2 separate regions of the Homo sapiens genome follow, and region 2 is linked to region 1. Evidence: promoter capture Hi-C in 16 types of primary human blood cells and fetal thymus (Javierre and others, 2016). All regions are on one chromosome and are shown on one strand. The core of a region is centred on a gene start or on the middle of the fragment in contact, and the rest is flanking DNA. Distances in the headings are between cores, read along the strand shown.

The links. The method cuts DNA at HindIII sites, captures the fragments that hold promoters and counts their contacts. A CHiCAGO score of 5 or more calls a contact.
Region 2: a contact is called between a fragment that was not itself captured here and the fragment with the promoter of PRKAR1B in region 1, in 2 of 17 cell types (naive CD8 T cells and activated CD4 T cells). The highest score is 6.4, in naive CD8 T cells.

Annotation. Positions count from the first base shown.
Region 1 is chr7:726,010-731,742 of GRCh38, reverse strand. It overlaps PRKAR1B (protein kinase cAMP-dependent type I regulatory subunit beta), which reads left to right and starts at 4,462. Exons shown (of 11, transcript NM_001164760.2): 1 at 4,462-4,533. DNAAF5 (dynein axonemal assembly factor 5) reads right to left here and starts at 5,044. Exons shown (of 13, transcript NM_017802.4): 1 at 4,428-5,044; 2 at 1,896-2,080. The coding sequence starts at 5,022. RefSeq lists an enhancer at 378-877 and silencers at 4,182-4,261, 4,302-4,411, 4,472-4,521, 4,772-4,971. The HindIII fragment of the contact is 13,329 bases long and covers 171-5,733 here.
Region 2 is chr7:484,841-490,573 of GRCh38, reverse strand. No RefSeq gene overlaps it. Among named protein-coding and RNA genes, the nearest start is that of PDGFA, 32 kb to the left of the region's middle. The HindIII fragment of the contact is 2,362 bases long and covers 2,398-4,759 here.

The DNA.
Region 1 (5,733 bases), core at 3,213-5,712:
GCCACACATAAAATAACACTAACACTAATGATAGCTGACGAGCTAAAAGAAAAAAAAAAATCACAAAAACAATCTCGTAACATTTTAAGAAAGTTTATGAATTGGTGTTGGGCAGCATTCAAAGCCGTCCCGGGCTGCATGTGGCCCACGGGCCGCAGGTTGGACAAGCTTGCTTTAGATCAACAATGTGATGTCAGCTTTCTAACAGACAGCTATTGATACAGAGTAGGCTGCTTATACATAGCTACCAATACAGTTATAGCATTTATAGGCAGCTGTCGACACATAGTTATGGTATTTTTAGAGTTACGGTATAGTTATACTGAGTTACACCGTTTACAGCTAGCAATAGAGTTCCAGTATTTACAGAGCGTGCTCCACAGAGTTCCAGTATTTACAGACAGCTATCGATACAGTGATGGTATTTTTAGACAGTGACGGTATTTTTAGACAGTGATGGTTATTTTTAGACAGTGACAGTAGGCTTACACCGACAGCTATCAGCTATGGAGCTTCAGTATTCACACAGAGCTCTCCATACAGAGTCATCACACTGTTTTGAGGAGTAAGACTTGGCCCATGACACAGACTCCACTTTCCTTGTGGGCCATGCTCTGCCTCAGGCTTAAGGAAGGTGGGAGAGAAAAACCAGCCGGCCGCCTGCACTTCTTGCTGGGCTCTGTTCTTGCCCTGGCCCCTTGAACTGCCCTCCGCAGCCCAAATATTTAGCCAGTGCCAGAAGTGCCTGCTGCAAGTGCCGGGCAGCATGGACACTGACCCCGCACTCTGCCCACTTTCTCCCCACTGGGCAGAGCCTGATGTCCTCAGGGGCCCTCTGTGCTGCCTGGTGCCGAACCCACGCCAGCTCCAGGAGGGGCCGGCCAGCGTACATGGTGACTCAACTTCCGCTGGCCTGATGAGACCAAGGGGGGTGAACAAAGGCTCCTGGTGGGAAAGGGTCCCCCTGTGTCTCTGCGCACAGCCCCTAGGCAGCCACTCTGCTGCTGGAGGGAGAGAGCCGGAGAATGAAGCCTGGCCATGGAGGCAAAGCAGGGGTGTCCTGAGCAGGTGCTATGTCACACCTGGAGCCGGCCCTACGGGTGGACCCCAGCAGCACAGACGAGGGAGCGAGTCAGGGCTTCCATCCTGGCCCCAGAATACCCCGAGTGACTCTTCAACTCACCACCTTCAAGCCATTTCTCATCAGGAAACCTACCTCTTCAAGGCTGAAACCTGGAACCATGCACAGTGAAGAGGCCAGACACAAAAGATCACATGTCTGACTACGATGACAGGTAACTCAGAGACAGAAAGATCAGAGGTCACTCAGCTTCCCCGGTGGCCACAGTGTGTAGCATTTTAGCAAGTCACTGGGGCCTCAGATCCAAGACATGCCCTCCAGGCCAGATTCTGCCAGCAGTAAAGCCAACACTCAGCCCCATCTGTAGGACTCCTGCCTGCCTGCCTGCCCGTCTCTTGGTGGGTTCCAAAGCCCAACGACATAATTATCCCCAACAAACCAACCCCGACTCCACTCTTCTCCCAGTCCAGGTCCACCAACCATGGTGGCTTTTCGGGAAAGTGCGTCTTGATGGATGGGAGCACTAAGGAACCTTCTGCAACTGCTGAAGTGCACACTGTGCCTAAGAGACAATAACTACACAAGTCATCCTTTCTAACATCCTTGGAATTCATAACATCAAACATTAAAACAGTTCAGCTCTCTTCTAGTTTTTCCAAGATGTGAACAGGAACGTCCTGTGACTAGGAATAATGAAAGGACATTTGGTGCATACAGCACTCTGAAAAAAGAACAAGTGAGTTAGTTAAAAACAGCACGTCAGCCCGCCTGTGTTGGAGAGAGGAACAGACTGTCCAGGAGAAACACCAGTTACCTGCGGGACGTCATCAAACAGTCGCTGAGCAAAATGGGAAAGCACGTCGTCCACGGACTTCCCGTTGCCAAAATGGATCACTGCGCCTGTGGCTTCAATGGCGGCCACACGGACCTTCCAGTGCTGGTGGGAGATGGTCTGCATCAGGGGCCCGATCAGAGACTCCGACTGCATGTGGAAGTGGTCTGAGGGACAGGGAGGCCCCCAGTTACCAGAGCTGCTCCCACACGCCTCGCCCAGCTCTGTGGGCTTCCAGAGGACGGCTGCCTGCCTATGAGTTCCTCACCTCCCTTCCTCTCCTACGCCAGGTCCTTGCTGCATGAACAGTACACAATCCAGGCTGCCAAGGAGAGCTCTGTACCGCCCGGCACAGGAAGAGGCTCAGGGACAAGCGTCCCACCCTGATGACACCTGTGCAACCCAGAGGCTTAGGAGGACCAGCGGGGAAAGGCTGGGGGTGCAAACCCATTGTGGCTGAAGACCAGAGAGCCTGGACCTGCTGAAGCCAAGGTGGAGGCCTGACGGGGACACTGGCCAGAGGAAAGAAGCCGAGCCCAGAAGACAGAGGCGAGGCCACACTCCCAGCCCCACCTGAGACGAGACCCCAGGCTCCTCCAGGAAGCTGGGCCAGCACCACTCCAGGCAAAGCCACTGCACTTCCTATTTGTAAAGTCCCCGCAGAAAGTCAGAACAAGAGGTGGCAGGCGCCTGTAATCCCAGCTACTTGGGAGGCTGAGGCAGGAGAATCGCTTGAACTCAGGAGGCGGAGGTTGCAGTGAGCTGAGATCGCCCCACTGCACTCCAGCCTGGGAGACAGAGTGAAACCCTGTCTCAAAAAAAAAAAAAAAAAAAGTCAGAACCAAAGGGTCTCTGGCATCCAGGCCGCCTCTTGCCTCAGCTCTGCACTACTTGGGGCCCGTCTGGGAAACGGCTATTCCAGTGAGACTTTGGGTGAGCGCCTCAACCTCTCTGCCGTTGCCCAGTGTGACCGAGACCAGAGGTGAGGCCCCCCACCCAGGGGAGAGGAAGGCCAGAGGTGCTGGAGATGAGGGGATGCTCCAGGCAGAGGCACAGTCCCTCACCCCACAGCAACCAGTGAGCACATACCCCAGCAGGCTGCGCTTGGGGCTGGGGCACAGATGGGCACAGTGCTGTCCTGTGGAACCTACGGTCCAGGGAGGGAGCTCGTGGGGCTGATGTACAGACTGGGTAGGGAAGTGGTTGAGGATGAAGAAGAAATACATTAAATGCCAGGAATTCTCAATGGCCATGTCCATCCAGCCCAAGGTTCTTCCCCAAGCTCCACAGGAGTTCTGGACCATGTGAAATCCAAAGTTAACCAACGTGGAAATCTCGGCATTTCCCCAAGTCCAGCTCTTCCTCTACTTCTGGAATCTATTCTCCACGCAGCTGCAGTGATCTTTTAACAACCTGAACTCGGGTCTATCACTTCTATTGACACCCCCTGCACTTCCCACTACATTCAGACCATCACTGGGACATCACTGGGACGGCCTGAGCTGGCCAGATCCCTCACTGCTTTCCTGCTCCCTACCGCCCACGGATTTATAGCATCAGTGTTCCCTCCTTCGGAAAGCCTTCCCGCCAGCAGGAAGCAGGCGCCTGCTATCATTCCACATCCCAGCCAGGGGAGGGAAAGGGCAAGACCCTGCAGGAATGGCCAGCTAAGGAAAGGGAACGACCGGATCAGATCAGAGCTCTAAAAAAGATGGGGAACGTTATAAAGTGGAGGGGAGAAGCGGCCTCCTTCCACTTAGGACAGTGGTCCAAGCCAGAGCGGAAAGGCAGGGGAGTAGGATGAATGGGACAGAAAGTGAAATGACCAGAGCAGAGTCTCAAAGCGCGTGCCCTCAACCAGGTGCAAGTCCTGCAAGCCCCCGAGGGAAGGAAAGGGGGCAGCTATCAGGGCACACCCCACCCCAAACCGCCTAACAGGAATTTCTGCGGTGGTTTCCAGGTATCTGGACAGAAGCGCTGGCTCGTGGGCCCGGGTGGGGTGGAGGGGGCTCAGGCAGGGAGGAGGGTGGGAGGTGAGGGTCGCGGGAGGGCGGCGTGCAAGGAGGAGGATGGCACAGGATAGGCAGGTGGAGGGGGCACAGGGAGCAGGCAGGTGGGGGGCGGGGCTTGGGGCGTGGAGGGTGGAGGCGGGGAGCAAGGGGACAGGGGAGTGAGGTGAGTGAGGGCCAAGCAGGAACAGGGGTCACGGGGCAAGGAGCACGTGGCAGCGCAGGAAACAGGTACATGGGGGTAGAGGACAAGGGAGCAGCTGAAGGGCGCGTTGGTGGCGGGACGTGAGGCAGGGGAAGCAGTGGTGGTGGGAGGAGGGGGCCGGGCGGGGTGCTTTGGGGCAGGCGGGTGGGGGAAGCGGCGCATGGGGGGTCCGGGATGTTGGGGGGTGCGGGCGTGGAGGGGGGCGGGGCCGAGCCGCGGGGGTTGTGAGAGGGGCCGCGGAGGTGGAGGTGGGGGTGAGAGTGTGGGGTGGCGTGTGGGAGCGGGGCCCGGGGTGCTCACCGGGCGTGGCCTGCGCCAGGGCGGCGGCGCAGCTGCAGCTCTCGCGGCGCACGGCGGCGAAGGGGTCGAGCAGGGAGCAGCGCAGCGCGCGCAGAGCGTCGTCCAGGTGGGGCGCGAGCGCGGCGCCGCACAGGTCCACGGCCAGGCCCAGCAGCTGCACAAGCGCCAGGCGCAGCTCCTCACAGGCCTCGGGCGGGCGGCGCGCGGGCACGGGGCCGGCCAAGCGCGCGGCGAGCGCGGGCAGCAGGCGCGGCAGGGCATCGCGGGGCCGCGCGGCGCGGCGCAGGCCCAGATCCAGCAGGTGCACTGCCAGCGCGCGGCAGCCCTCGGCGGGGTCGCTCAGGCAGCGCAGCAAGCGCGGCAGCAGTAGGCGCGCCCAGGGGCCCTGGAAAGCGGTGGGGTCGGCGGCAGGGCCTGGCTCCTCCAGCGCGCGCCGCAGGGCCTCCAAGGCGCGCCGCCGGCCCGGCTTGCTGTCGGCCTCCAGCCCCGGCAGCAGGCGGCTCAGGGCGCGGCTCAGCTCCACCGCCTCAGCCGTCTCGGCCCCCTCAGCCGGGTGTGGGGCCGCCACGGCCTCCGCCACCCCCAGCGCCGCCATCTTGCCCGCGTCGCCGGTCACTAAGGGGAACAGCGCTTTCGCGACTCTCAGCGCAGATTACGGCAGCACTTCCGGTCCGCGCTGCGGGCGGGGCGCCGGGCTACTTCCTCCCCGCCGGTGCGCACGTGGGCCTGTGCTCTTGTCGTGCTCGCCCGCTGTCCCCCTCTGTCGCCGGAACCCCCGCCAGCCTGCCTGCTGGGCCTTGTCCTGTCCCCATTGTACAGATGGGGAAGGTCTCGGGAGGGTGCAGCTCGCCCGGGATGCGGGTCCCGGGCTATAGGCCTGGGCCTGCCCCTAGGGAAGCCTGCCCTGCAGCCTAGGGGGCTTGGAGAAGGAACCTGAGTGGTCCCGCCTGGGACCAGGGTAGCCGGGAAGCCCCTGTTTGAGCCGCCTAGAGCCCCTCTGGCTTTGGGAAGGTCCGTTCCAGGAGGGAAGGACGCTGGTTCTGTGGACTGGATCCCCCTGTGGTGTAAGACAGGTGCCTGGTCTGGGCTTCACGTGCAGCCTGTCATTAGATCTCAGGCGTAGCCGCCCAATAGGTTCGCCTTACTCGCTGCCCAGGTAGAGCCAATTTATCAAGACAGGGGAATTGCAATAGAGAGTTTAATGCATGCAGAAACTGGCTGCATGCAGAAACTGGCTGCATGCAGAAACTGGCTAAAGGACACTGGAGCTTTATTGCTCAAACCAGGTTCTGAAAATCCTGAGATG
Region 2 (5,733 bases), core at 2,329-4,828, 240 kb after region 1:
CCCTGTCCTGGGCTCCTCTGGACCTCCTGGCACAGCCTTGTGCTACTCAGCGTCCACTGGCACGGTCGACTCCCAAATCCCCTCCCCCAGGAACCAAGAGCTAGGACTTGTCTACACAGCCAGACCTCCAGCCCTGATGGATGGAAAAGCCTAGACCCTGCACTGTGGATGTCAGGGAGGACTTATGGCTACTGGGTCTCAAGAAAGTCACTTGTTTATTTTTATACGTATTTATTCATTTGAGACAGTATCTCTCTCTGTCGCCCAGGCTGGAGTGCAGTGGCGCGATCATGGCTCACTGTAGCCTCGACCTCCTGGGCTCAACTGATCCTTCCAGCCTCAGCCTTCTGAGTAGGTGGGACTGGTGTGGCCTCGGGGCTTCTCTTTGTTGCCCGGGTTGGTCTCAAATTCCTGGGCTCAAAGGATCCTCCCACCTCAGCCTCCTAAAGTGCTGGGATTATAGGCAAGTGCCACTGCACCCTGCCGAGAAGTTAATTTGTTTGTTCATTCTTGGCTCAGCAGAGAGTTGCATACCAAAATGGCTCAGTGAATTGGCCTGGTGCAGGAAAGGGAGGGGTGTTCTGAAGGTCATTTCTGCTCATGGGGGGTCAGTGACCTTCAGCAGAGCCTCACCCCTCTCTGAGCCACAGTTTCCTCAACTGTAAGGTGGTTGAACTGTTGGATTAAACCAGATTAGACCAGAGTTGCTCAGAATTTTGTACACAAGATGCATTCATGAAGGTTTGTGACTATGATATTTTTCTAAGAGTTTTATAGTTTAGTTCTCATATTTAGGTGTTTGATCTGCTTTCAGTTAATTTTTGTATGTGGTGTGAGGCAGGGGTCCACCTGCATTCTTTTGTATGGTGGAAATCCAATTGTCTCAGCACGATTTGTGGAAGAGACTCTTCTTCCCCACTGAATAGTCTTGACACCCTTGACAAGTCAATCAACCATGAATGTATAGCTTTTTAAATGAACTCTCAGTTCTATTTCATTGATCTATATGTCTCTCCCTATGCCTTGGGTCTTCATTACTGACATTGTGGTAAGTTTGAAATCCAAAATTGTGAGTCCTCCAGCTTTGTTCTTTGTAAAAACTGTTTTCTTTTCATTTATAATTGCCCTGGCTAGAAAGTACCTCCAGTAGAATGTTGACTAGAAGTGGCTGAAGCCGACATCTTTGTCTTGCTCCTGATCTTAGGGGAAGAGTTCTAAGTCTTTTGCCTTAGCTAGCTGTGGGTTTTATGTAGATGTCCTTTATTAGGGTGAGAAAGTTCCCTTCTATTCCTAGTTGTTGAGTGTTTATTTATTTTTGTTATGAAAAAATATTAGATTGTCCTTTTTTTGCATCAGTTGAGATGATCATGTGATTTTTATTTTTATTCTGTTAATATGGTATATTACACTGATTTTTTTTTTGTATGTTGAACCACCTTTGCATTCCTGGAATAAATCCCACTTGGTCATGGAGCACAGTCATTATTTTTGTATGTTGCTGGATTTGGCTTTTTAATATTTTATTTATTTAATATTTTTATTTATTGAAATTTTGTGTGTCTATACATGAGGGATAGTAGTCTGTAGTTTTCTTGTGATGTCTTTGTGTGGTTTTGGTGACAGGTTATGACTGGCTTCACAGAATGAGTTCTTTCCTCTTCTATTTTTTCAAAGAGTTTGGGAAGCATTTGTGTTAATTCCTTTTTAAATATTTGGTAGCATTCACCAGTGAAGCCATCTGGTCCTGGGCTTTTCTTTGTAGGAAGTTTTTTGATTACTAATTCAATCTCTTTGCTTACTATAAGTCTTCATATTTCTTCGGGCCTCTTTTTCTTGAGTCAGTTTGTGATTCTAGGAATTTGTTCATTTCATCTAGGTTATCTAATTTCTTGGCACACAATGTTCACAGCATTCCTTTATTATTTTTATTTCTGTAAGGCTGATACTAATGTTCCCTCTTTTCATTCCTGAGTTTAGTAATTTGATTATTCTGTCTACTTCTTGGTCAGTGTAGCTAAAGTTTTGTCTATTTTATTTTTTTCAAGAACCAACTTTTGGTTTTGTTAATATTCTCTATTGTTTTTCTACTCTTTATTTTTAAAATTTATTTCCCCCGTAATTTTTTTTTTTTTGAGACAGAGTCTTGCTATGTTGCCCAGGCTGGTCTTGAACTGGGCTCACGTGATCCTCCTGCCTCAGCCTTTCAAGTAGCTCTCTAATCTTTGTTATTTCATTTTTCTGCTTGTTTTGGGTTTGGTTTGGTTTTTTTTTCCATTTTTTAAAAGATGGAAGATTAAGTTATTGATTTGACGTCTTTTCTTTTTTATTTTAAAAAATTAGGAGTTTCTAGCTATAAATGTCCCTCTAAGCACTGTTTTAAGCTGCATCCCATAAGCTTTGGTAAGTTGAGTTTTCTTTCATCTCAAAGTATTTTCTGGTTTTCGCTGGGATGTCTTCTTTGACTTATTGGTTATGTAGGAGTGTGTTGTTTAATTTCCACATATTTGTGAATTTCATAAATTTTCATCTATTAATGATTTCTAATTTTATTTCATTATGGTCAGAGAACATACTTGGTATGATTTTCATTATTTTGAATTTATTGAGACTTCTTTTATGGCCAAACATATGGTCTATCCTGGAGAATGTTTCACGTGCACTTGAAAAGAATGTGTGTTTCTGGATGGGCGCAGTGGCTCACACCTGTAATCCCAGCACTTTGGGAGGCCAAGGCAGGCGGATCACTTGAGTCAGGAGTTTGAAACCAGCCTGGCCAACATGGTGAAACCCTGTCTCTACTAAAAATACAAAAATTAGCCGGGCATGGTTGGGCATGCCTGTAATCTCAGCTACTCAGGAGGCTGAGGCACGAGAATCGCTTGAACCCGGGAGGTGGAGGCTGCAGTGAGCTGAGATTGCACCACTGCACTCCAGCCTGGGTGACAGAGCGAGACTCCATCTCCAAAAGAAAAAGAATGTGTATACCTTTATGGTTGAATGGAGTGTTCTGTAGATGCACATAAGATCGAGTTGGTGTATGATGTTGTCCAGGTCTTCTACTTGCTGGTTGATCTTTGGTCTAGTTGTTCAATTTCAATTTGTTTTTGTATATCGTCCTTAGATCCTGCAACCTTGCTAAATTCACTTATTAGTTTTAGTAGAATTCTTTTGAAATTCCTTTGAGTTTTCTACATACATGATCATGTTATCTGGAAATAAGAACTGTTGTATTTCTTCTTTTGCATTCTGTATGCCTTTTATTTCTTTTTCTTGCCTTGTTGTACTGGCTGGGACCTCCAGAACAAATAGAAGTGACAATAGAATGGGCAATCTTGCTTTATTCCTGTTATTAGCTAGAAAGCAATGAGCCTTTCAACATTGAGTAAGATGTTAGCTGTAGCTGTTTTGTAGATGCCTTTAATGAAGTTGAGGAGGTTTGCTTCTCCTATTAGTTTTCTGAGAGGGTTTTTTGTTTTTCTTAAATCATGAAAAGTTGTTGAATTGTGTCCATTTTTTTTGCATCTATTGCATTTCATTGTATGGTTTCTGCATCTGTTAAAATTACCATGTGATTTTTTTTTACATAATTCTATTATTGTGAATTACATTGATTAGTTTTTCAAATGCTACATTAACCTTGCATTCCTGAGATTAACCCACCTTGGTCATTAAATACGTTTCTTTTTATATTGATTCTACTTGTTAATCATTTGTTAAGGATTTTTGTGTCCATGCTTAAGTGGGAAATTGTTCTGTAGTCCTCTTTTCCTGTGGTGTCTTTGGTTTTGAATCAGGGTTTTTGGAGAGTCACAGAAAGTTACAGCCACACAGAGACAAACACATAGACACAAAAACACATGGAGCACCACACACATTCACGTACAGGCACACACATTCACATACAGGTTCACACATTCACACACAGGCTCATGCATTCACACGCATTCACATGCAGGCACACTCACTCACGTGCAGGTCCACACACAGGGACACACATTCACACACAGGCTCACGCATTCTCACGTAGGCACACGCATTCACATGCAGGCTCACACATTCACACACAGGCTCATGGAGTCACACGCACACACATGCTCACACAGGCATACACAGTCACACGCAGGCTCACGCAGGCACACGCAGGCTCATGCAGGCACATGCAGGCTCACATATTCACATGCCTCACACACAAGCGCGCCTCACACACAAGCACATGCATTCACACACAGGCATACACATTCACATGCAGGCTCACATAGGCTCACACGGGCACACACATTCACACACAGGCACGCACACATTCACACACAAGCTCACACACAGGCTCATATAGACACCCTCGAGGATGCTTCAGTCCGACGCGGAGTCAGGAGAGCTCGGACTCACTGAGGACCCTGCTATGGTCTGCAGCTGTGTTCATTTATCAGCTGGGACAGTGTGGGGTGCTCCTTGGACGCTGTCTGTTTCTCCCGCTCTGAGAAGAGCCCTGCCCCGGTTACGAATCCTTCATGACCGTGATTTCTGCCGCTTCCCGGGAGTCATCAGGGTACAGGGATCCCGCCTCCTGACAGTGCCCTTCTGCGGCCCTGTCCCTGTTCTGTGGACGAGGACACAGCCATCCAGGGGTGGAGCCGTGCATTCCAGGGCCCTTATCCTGTTCAGCCACCCCTCCCTCCCACAGCGTCCCCTCCCTGCCCCACCTGGCATTGGCCCCAACCCCCAGCGCCCTTCTTGGTGGCGGGTGTGGACTGCACAAGCTTGTGGCGATGGAAAGCTGGGCTGGGGCCAGACTTGGTGAGAGGCCACGAGAGCTGGCACTGAGGGGCCCTCGCAGTGGGATGCCCTGCCAGGCTTCTGGGGCCATGTCCCTCCTGTGGCTGTCCAAGCCCCACAGATGGCGATGCAGTGTGTACGTCCTGCAGCTCCTCGTGGCCTGGCGAGTCACAGCCTGTCCTGTGTTGATTTTGCTGCTCAGCAAGGGATGTGGGCAGATAGTGTCACAGTTATTTATCAGGAGGCAGAGAACCCCTGGCAGAAGTGGGTCTTGGGGAGGCTAGACTCACTAGAGCCCCAGCCTGGGAGCTGTGGCTTGCTGGCCTGCAACCGTGGACCCCAGCCCCTGGGGGCCCTGGAAGCCTGTTTCTCCATGATCAAGGGCCGTTTTTTGCGAGTGTTTGCAAGGGAGGAAGGGCTTCCTGCAGGATCTTCCCGTGTGATGTCTCTATGGGCTTTCTCCTGGGACAGGGACCCATCAAAGGTGGGAAGGGAGGGTGGTGCTGTCCGGGGAGGTAGGTGAGGGGACCACAGTCTGAGGTCCAAACTGCAAAGGGTTCACCCCGTAGCCTCCTCCCTCCTTCATTCCCTCCTTTCTTTTGTTCTCTCCCTCCTCACCTCTCCATTCGTTTTTTTGGAGCTACTGGGGCTGGAGCCGCCTCCTGGGATTGTGGCAGCCTTGGAAGATGGGTCCTCCAGTGAGAGCCTCGGGGCTGGGAGGAGAGGCCCAGGGTGCCGCAGTCCCAGTCCCAGGGTCATGGGGGGCCCTCGAGCGCGGGGGACCCTGGGGCCTCTGTGCAAGGGATGGCTCTGGGGCCCTGTGCTGATGGAGGACTCTGTGTTTACCTAATGAGGGGGTGCATGGGGGTTGGCAAACAGCCCTTGACTGCTGGCGGAGGCTGTCGGCTTGGGTGGCTTCCAGAGGCCCCTCAGCCCTGCATACCTTCCTCCCGGGCTCCA